3 separate regions of the Homo sapiens genome follow, and all the other regions are linked to region 1. The links are contacts of gene promoters, found by promoter capture Hi-C in blood cells and fetal thymus (Javierre and others, 2016). All regions are on one chromosome and are shown on one strand. The core of a region is centred on a gene start or on the middle of the fragment in contact, and the rest is flanking DNA. Distances in the headings are between cores, read along the strand shown. Region 1 holds the start of CEACAM16-AS1 (CEACAM16, CEACAM19 and PVR antisense RNA 1). Region 2 holds the start of APOC1 (apolipoprotein C1). Region 3 has its middle 2.7 kb from the start of CLPTM1.

What was found. Contacts are between HindIII fragments. The CHiCAGO score rates a contact against its expected background, and 5 or more counts as called.
Region 2: a contact is called between the fragment with the promoter of APOC1 here and the fragment with the promoter of CEACAM16-AS1 in region 1, in 2 of 17 cell types (naive CD8 T cells and activated CD4 T cells). The highest score is 5.1, in naive CD8 T cells.
Region 3: a fragment that was not itself captured here is called in contact with the fragment with the promoter of CEACAM16-AS1 in region 1 in 1 of 17 cell types (total B cells); the score reaches 6.0 in total B cells.

The regions. Positions count from the first base shown.
Region 1 is chr19:44,723,906-44,726,605 of GRCh38, forward strand. It overlaps CEACAM16-AS1 (CEACAM16, CEACAM19 and PVR antisense RNA 1), which reads right to left and starts at 1,278. Exons shown (of 2, transcript NR_186815.1): 1 at 932-1,278. The HindIII fragment of the contact is 7,565 bases long and covers 1-2,700 here.
Region 2 is chr19:44,913,238-44,915,937 of GRCh38, forward strand. APOC1 (apolipoprotein C1) reads left to right here and starts at 1,371. Exons shown (of 4, transcript NM_001645.5): 1 at 1,371-1,496; 2 at 1,635-1,712. The coding sequence starts at 1,655. RefSeq lists enhancers at 1-166, 925-1,684, 1,685-2,442 and a promoter at 384-1,510. The HindIII fragment of the contact is 4,871 bases long and covers 1-2,700 here.
Region 3 is chr19:44,951,289-44,953,988 of GRCh38, forward strand. No RefSeq gene overlaps it. Among named protein-coding and RNA genes, the nearest start is that of CLPTM1, 2.7 kb to the right of the region's middle. The HindIII fragment of the contact is 829 bases long and covers 946-1,774 here.

The sequences.
Region 1 (2,700 bases), core at 28-2,527:
AATGATGCACAGAATCCAGTTTCAGGGGTAGTTTGGTACTTGGACCCAGGTCCCAGGGAGAGAGTCCAAGGAGCCCTTCTCTGGTCTTCCAAGGAGCTGCTCTCCCCAAGCTCCGGATGGAAGGCGTGCCCATGGCAACCGCTAGGTGGTGCCCGTACACCACCAGCCAGGTCTTTTTTTGCCAAAAGTAGATCAGGCCCAGAGCTGGGCAGAACTGCCCCTGGGTCAGGAGAGCAAATCGTCTCTGTCTTTTGGTCCTGGCTCCCTGGCCAGGCATCCTGGGGCCATTTGACTCCCAGGCTCAGGAAGGAGCTGGCTGAGCTGCAGTGAGTATGTTCTTCGTCTCTTTCCTCACCTTGGAATCTCAGACGGGAGCACCCTGGCTCCCACTTCAGACAGGAAGATTCTTACCTCCCTCATCAGACTAGCAGGCTCTTTGTCTCCCCACCAGTTTGAGGGGCTCCCCATTTCTATCATTCATTTGGAAGCTCATCAGCTCTCCCAGAAGGCATGGGAGCCCTTCAACACCCCCATCAGACTAGGACTACCCATCTCCCCCATCAAATTAGAACTGCATTGTCTCACACATCAAAGTATCACTCCTGGCCAGGTGCAGTGGCTCCCGCCTGTAATCCAAGCACTTTGGGAGGCCGAGGCAGGAGGATCACCTGAGGTCAGAAATTCAAGACAAACCTGGCCAACACGGTGAAACCCGGTCTCTACTAAAAATAACAAATTAGCCAGGCGTGGTGGTGTGCGTCTGTAATCCCAGCTACTCAGGAGGCTGAGGCAGGAGAATCGCTTGAACCCAGGAGGCACAGGTTGCAGTGAGCCAAGATCACACCACTGCACTCCAGCCTGGGCGACAGAGCGAGACTCTGACTCACAAAAATAAATACATTGTCTTACACATCAGAATGTTGCTCCTTACCTCCCCTGGCAGACTGGAAATATAGACTGGACACTCGTTCTTGCTGCACAGGACTGGAGCTTCTTATCTTCTTCATTGGATTTGGACAGTCCTGTCTCCCTCATGGGATTTGGTGAGAGCTCCTTAGTTTCCTTATTTTTCCCACTGTGTTGGGCCACCTTGTCCCCACCATCAGATTGGGGAACACCTTGTCTCCCAGTCAGACCAGAGGGGCGGACTCCTCTGCCCTTGCAAAGGTTCCTAGGTCCTTCTTACATCCATAGGAGGAACCATGCCTATTTTACCAAGAGGGAAACTGAGGCACAGAGAAACAAAGCACCACTTCTCTGTCCAGCTGCAGATGCCTCCACCTCCCCCTCCGCCCGCTCCTCTGCCCCTGCCCTCCCCCGCCCCCGCCCCTGACCTGGGTAACTCCCCTGGCACCGGGAGTAGGGGAATTTTGCCCTGCTGGCCTCTGCACCAACCACCTCCCCTTATCGGCAGCGTCGCCACCAGTGGCGGCCCAGGGTTAAAGTCCGGAGAGAGCTCCGGGCGCGAAGCGGATAGGGAGGGAGGAGTGGCGCCCAACCCAGAACGGGGACTCCCCGGAGGTCGAGCCCTCACGCTGCTGGGAGGAGAGGGGATGGGCAGGGCCGTGTCCCATGGTAAGGTGTGGGTTCAATCCTTCCTTTCTAGTTCCCGGCTGTGTGGTCTTGAACCTGGAACTTCACCCCAACTGGGAGCCTCAGCTTCTCCAGCTTTAAGGAGTCAGGGGCGTGAAAATGTCCAAGCTCTGGAGTCAGACTCCAGGAGTTTGAATGCTGGCTCCTATAACCTGCTGTGTGAGATCTGGGGCCAGCGAGTGTGTCTCTCTCAGCCTCAGTTTCCCCAGCTGTGCAATGAGGATACCTAGTGGGTGGTGGTGAACGCTCCATGAGTTTACGCACAAGAAAACCTTGGGACAGTGGCTGATAGTGGCGCCAGCAAGCCAGCATGCACCCCACCCTTTCCTTCCAAGAAAATTGCCTCCTAAATCTATGATTGGTAACCTTCACCCCTCCCTCTTTGACCCACCTCCTAACCCAGGCCACCTGGTGTCTTGCTGCACAGCTGGTCTCCCTGCCCGCACCACACCCAGAGGCGTCCTTGGAAACCCAACCCTGACCCCTGGTCAGAATCTGCCATGGCTCCCCAGTGCCCCCAGGAGAAAGCCAAGTGCTGTGCCACAGCCACAGCCTGACCACTCACTGCTTGTATTTTTTTTTCTTTTTCTTTCTTTTCTTTTCTTTTTCTTTTTTTTTTTTTTTTTTTAAGACAGGGTCTTGCTCTGGCCCCAGGCTGGAATGCAGTGGTGCCATCATAGCTCACTGCAGCCTCAACCTCCTGGGCTCAAGCAATCCTCCCACCTCAGTCTCCTGAGTAGCTGAGACTACAGGCACATGCCACCACACCTGGGTAAATTTTTAAATTTTTTTTTTAGCGATAGGGTCTCACTCATTGCCCAGGCTGGTCTTAAACTCCTGGGCTCAAGCGATCCTCCCGCCTCAGCCTCCCAAAATGCTTGGACTACAGGTATGCACCACCGCGCCCAGCCTCCTTTCTGGTTTTCTAATAAAGCCTTTTGTTCACCTCCTTCAAACACTTCCCCATGCTCTTCAGGTCTCAGCTCAAACAGGCCAGGCCCGGTCCCCTGGGTCCTCTCTGTCCTCCGTCTCCTGGTTCCCTGTACCTCTCCAAAAGCCCCCACGACCAAAAGAAGTAAAGATGTAGGGCCGGGCGCGGTGGCCTAC
Region 2 (2,700 bases), core at 121-2,620, 190 kb after region 1:
GGGGGAGGTAGCCAGCCAAAGGGGGTGAGGCCCGGTGGAAGGGAAGAAGGGACATACACGCAGAGCTTTGCAGCTGAGGGTTTTAATTTTTTGAGATGGGGTCTCTGTCCCACCAGGCTGGAGTGCAGTGGCACAATCACAGCTCACTGCAGCCTCGAACTCCTGGGCTCAAGCAATCTTCCTACCTCAGCCTCTTGAGTAGCTGGGACTACAGGCATGCGCCACCACGCTCGGCTAATTTTTGAACTTTTTTGTAGAGATGAGGTCTCCCTATATTGCCCAGGCTGGTCTCGAACTCCCAGGCTCAAGTGATCCTCCCTCTTCAGCTTCCCAAAGTGCTGGGATTACAGGCATGAGCCACCATGCCTGGCTAATGCAGGTGAGGTTTTTGCAGTGTCATCCAGCTAAGGCGACCCGTTCCCCTCCCAAAAAAGGGAGACTGAGAACCATGAAGTTAAGAGCCCAGAGAATATCACGGTGGTCTGGGGTGCTTCAAGGGCTGGTCTGGAATAAATTGGAGGTGGCACGCAGGGTAGGAGCGCCGGGCCAACTGGGAGACCCAGCAACATAAAGGAAAAGTTGTTGGGGCTGAGGAGGCTTGCTGAGAGAGGGGAAGTGAGGGAAAGAGGTGATCTAGGGACACGGTGTGAATGAGGGGGGGATGAGATCACAGGGTTATTACTGGGAGACCCCTGAGGGAAGATGGCCACAGGGACAGGACAAGGCTGTCTTCTTAAGGGAGGAGACCACCCCTCATATTGTCTTATGCCCAATTTCTGCCTCCAAAGAAAGAAAAAGTAAAAACTAAAAGGCAGAAATGAAATCCACAAGCAGACAGCCCGCGCCACACCCTGGGCCTGGTGGTTAAAGATTGACCCCTGACCTAATCCGTTAGGTTATCTATAGATTACAGACATTGTATAGAAAAGCACTGTGAAAATCCCTATTCTGTTTTGTTCCGATCTAATTACCGGTGCATGCAGCCCCCAGTCACGCATCCCCTGCTTGTTCAATCGATCACGACCCTCTCACGTGCACCCACTTAGAGTTGTGAGCCCTTAAAAGGAACAGGGATTGCTCACTCGGGGAGCTCGGCTCTTGAGACAGGAATCTTGCCCATTCCCCGAACGAATAAACCCCTTCCTTAACTCAGCGTCTGAGGAATTTTGTCTGCGGCTCCTCCTGCTACATTCTGAGTGGGGAAAGGGACTAAGGTGGTCTGAGGACCCCACAGAGTCAGGAAGATTGAGAGGTGAGAGTGCTGAACGGGGAGGGGCTTTGGGGCTAAGGGAAGTGCCCGGGACCCCACCTGACCCCAACGCTCACGGGACAGGGGCAGAGGAGAAAAACGTGGGTGGACAGAGGGAGGCAGGCGGTCAGGGGAAGGCTCAGGAGGAGGGAGATCAACATCAACCTGCCCCGCCCCCTCCCCAGCCTGATAAAGGTCCTGCGGGCAGGACAGGACCTCCCAACCAAGCCCTCCAGCAAGGATTCAGGTTGGTGCTGAGTGCCTGGGAGGGACACCCGCCTACACTCTGCAAGAAACTCAAAAAGGGAGATGAGGGGATCGTGGGAGGGAGGTAGGGAGGGAGGAGGGTGCCACTGATCCCCTGAACCCCTGCCTCTGCCTCCAGAGTGCCCCTCCGGCCTCGCCATGAGGCTCTTCCTGTCGCTCCCGGTCCTGGTGGTGGTTCTGTCGATCGTCTTGGAAGGTAAAAGTGGGATGGGAGAATTGCGGAGTTGGAGATTTGGAAGAGTGAAGGTGGCTACAGGCCTGGGGTCCCGGCTTAGAGGACCTCTGAGAGCTCCGGGGCCCCTTCTGGGTCGTGGTTGCCTCATCGTGGTCGGGTGGGTCTCCAGGTTCTCCCAGGCTCAGTCCCGCAGGCGCCAAATCTGCGCAGGAGAGCACTAGCAACCGATGACGTATTGAGGCCCACACCTCTGGGATTGGCTGTCCTGCTTCGACAGCCTTGAAAGTGGGTAAGCTGGGTGGGGGGCTCTGGGAGAGGTCAGTGCTGAGTAAGGCAATTCCCAGCAGCTTGAGCCCCACCAGGTCACTCCAGTATTCCTCCCCATTCTTTTTTTTTTTTTTTTTTTTTCTCTTGAGACGGAGTCTCGCTCTGTCGCCGAGGCTGGAGTGCAGTGGCGCGATCTCGGCTCACTGCAAGCTCCGCCTCCCTGGTTCACGCCATTCTCCTGCCTCAGCAGGACTACAGGCGCCCGCCACCGCGCCCGGCTAATTTTTTGTATTTTCAGTAGAGACAGGGTTTCACCGTGGTCTCGATCTCCTGACTTTGTGATCCGCCTGCCTCGACCTCCCAAAGTGCTGGGATTACAGGCGTGAGCCACCGCGTCCGGCCATTCCTCCCCATTCTAACCACATGATCCCCAAGGATCTCTATCCATCCCGGTATCCCAACCTAAGGGGGTTCCAATAACAAATTTTTGGCCGGGCAGGGTGGCTCATGCCTGTAATCCCAGCACTTTGGGAGGCCGAGGCGGGCAGATCACTTGAGGTCAGGAGTTCGAAACCAGCCTGGCCAACATGGTGAAACTTCGTCTCTACTAAAAATACAAAAAAATTAGCCAGGTGTGGAGGCACGCGCCTGTAGGCCCAGCTACTCGGGAGGCTGAGGCAGGAGAATCACTTGAACCCGGGAGGCGGAGGTTGCAGTGAGCCGAGATCATACCACTGCACTC
Region 3 (2,700 bases), core at 110-2,609, 230 kb after region 1:
AGGCTTTCAACACCCTTGGGGCAGTTTTCCCAGGTCCTGAGGCTGGGCAGCTGAGTCCAGTAAAAAACAGGGGCCCTGGAGAGGGACTGTGGGCAATGCCCCCGAGTCCCCGGGGCCTGGGAAGAACAGAGGCTGCCAAGTGCAGGGGGTGGTGGGGAGGGGAAGACCCTGGAGTAACAATCCCTGCTGTGTCCACTTGGTTCCCACGGACTCAAGCCAAGCCAAAGCACTGCCCGGACCAGTTCGGCTTCCAACCAATCCTGGTGCTGGCCTCAGACTCCTCCTTTCTTTCTCAGAACCCCATTCCCCTCAGGGCCCCCAGAGTCCAGGCCCCTAGATTCTTCTTCCCCTAGAACTCAGGAGTCTGGGACCCCCCAGTCCCTTCTCCTCAGGACCTAGAAGGTTGGATCCCCAGCCCCCTTTCTCCCTTAGAACCTGAAATCACAGCCCTTGATCAGTATTTTGCGCCCCCTAGTGGAGAGAAGAGTGGGTCTGTCCTGTGACTTACATACAGCAGGAATGGCAGAATTTTTTACTTATTATGATTTTTAATTTCTTTAGAGACAGGGTCTCACTCTGTCACCCAGGCTGGAGTGCAGTAATGTGATCACAGCTAATTGCAACCTCGAACGAACTCCTGGGCTCCGGCATCCCTCCCACCTCAGCCTCAGAGTAGCTGGACCACAGGTGGATGCCACCACACCACCTAATTTTGTTAATTTTTAGTAGAGCTAGGATCTCGCTATGTCACCAAGGCTGGTCTTAAACTCCTAGGCTCAAGCGATCCTTCTGCCTCAGCCTCCCAGAGTGCTAGGATTACAGGCATGAGCCACGAAGCCTGGACGGAATGGCAGAATTTATTTGGTCACTCCACAGAGCATAGGAAGGCTCTGCAGGGAACCTGCCTCCACAGGAGCCCTGTCCAAGGTCACACTTCTCATGAGAAGCTTAGACCTCATCATGCTCCAACACATTGGCCCTTGCAGTGTATGAGACTTGGAGAGCAGATTGCAGCAGTTTGTATTTATAGCTGAGAGCGCAGTTGGGGTTGCAGTGAGGCTGGAGAAAGTTTCAAAGCCCCTCACTTGCCTGGGCTTTCCATGGTCCTCTACCTAAATTTGTACAAGTCATTTTGTACTTTTTTTTTTTCAAGACAGAGTCTCCCTTTTCTTGCCCAGGCTGGAGTGCGATGGCATGATCTCGGCTCACCACAACCTCCGCTTCCCAGGTTCAAGCGATTCTCCTGCCTTGGCCTCCCAAGTAGCTGGGATTACAGGCATGTACCACCATGCCCAGCTAATTTTGTACTTTTAGTAGAGATGGGGTTTCTCCATTTTGGTCAGGCTGGTCTCGAACTCCCGACCTCAGGTGATCCACCAGCCTCTGCCTCCCAAAGTGCTGGGATTACAGTGTGAGCCACCACACCCAGCCAATTTTGTACTTTTTAAAAGAGGCCAGGCCAGGCGCGGTGGCTCATGCCTGTACTCCCAGCACTTTGGGAGACAGAGGCAGGCGGATCACGAGGTCAGGAGATCAAGACCATCCTGGCTAACACGGTGAAACCCCGTCTCTACTAAAAATACAAAAAATTAGCTGGGCGTGGTGGTGGGCGCCTGTAGTCCCAGCTACTCCGGAGGCTGAGACAGGAGAATGGTGTGAACCCAGGAGGCGGAGCTTGCATTGAGCTGAGATCATGCCACTGCACTCCAGCCTGGGTGACAGAGCAAGACTCCATCTCAAAAAAAAAAAAAAAAAGAGGCCCACAAAACACATAAGCTTCAGACCCCACAAAGTCTCTCCTCAATCCCTGTCTTAGTCTATTCACTTCATCCCTGGACTTAAAAGACTGGGCCTACACATTCAAAGAATCGTTATTAACACCATTATTGTCTGTAACAGTGAGGATGAGGCACTGAGTTTTCTTTTTCTTTTCTTTCTTCTTTTTTGGAGGTGGAGTCTTGCTCTGTTGCCCAGGCCGGAATTCAGTGGCATGATCTTGGCTCACTGCAACCTCTGCCTCCCGGGTTCAAGCAATTCTCCTGCCTCAGCCTCCCGAGTAGCTGGAGTTACAGACGTCCGCCACCATGCCCGGCTAATTTTTGTATTTTTAGTAGAGACGGGGTTTCACAATGTTGGCCAGGCTGGTCTTGAACTCCCGACCTCAGGTGATCCGCCTGCCTCGGCCTCCCAAAGTGCTGGGATTACAGGCGTGAGCCACCGCGCCTGGCTGAGGAGCGAAGTTTTCTAAGGTTCCTTCTTGTCCTGTGTTAGCCCTCAGAGAGGTAAGTCACTCACCTTCTGCACCTAGAGAGCCTCATCCCCAGGGCAATCATCCCCAGGGCAGTGCTGGAGATACAGCAGTGACCACAACAGTCCCAGGTCAGCCTGCCCAGTTGGGGAGACACACCCATCCCTGACAGTGATGACACAAAGTGAGCAGGGATGGGGTGGAGGAGCTGAGGGGGCAAGGGAGGATAGGAAAAGGGCTCAGAGAGAGTTTCCTAGAGCGAGAGCTACTGTTACAGGGCTGAGACCTAGAGGAAAGTGGAGGAAACCGATAATAAAATGATAATTATATATTCAGAATATCCCAATGCAAAGCTTACTCTTTTTCCAGGTAATATATAAGGTTCATAATCACAGCGCTCCAAATATTGACCACTTAAGCATGAGGCCCAGGGCCTGATGTTTTCCATTCGC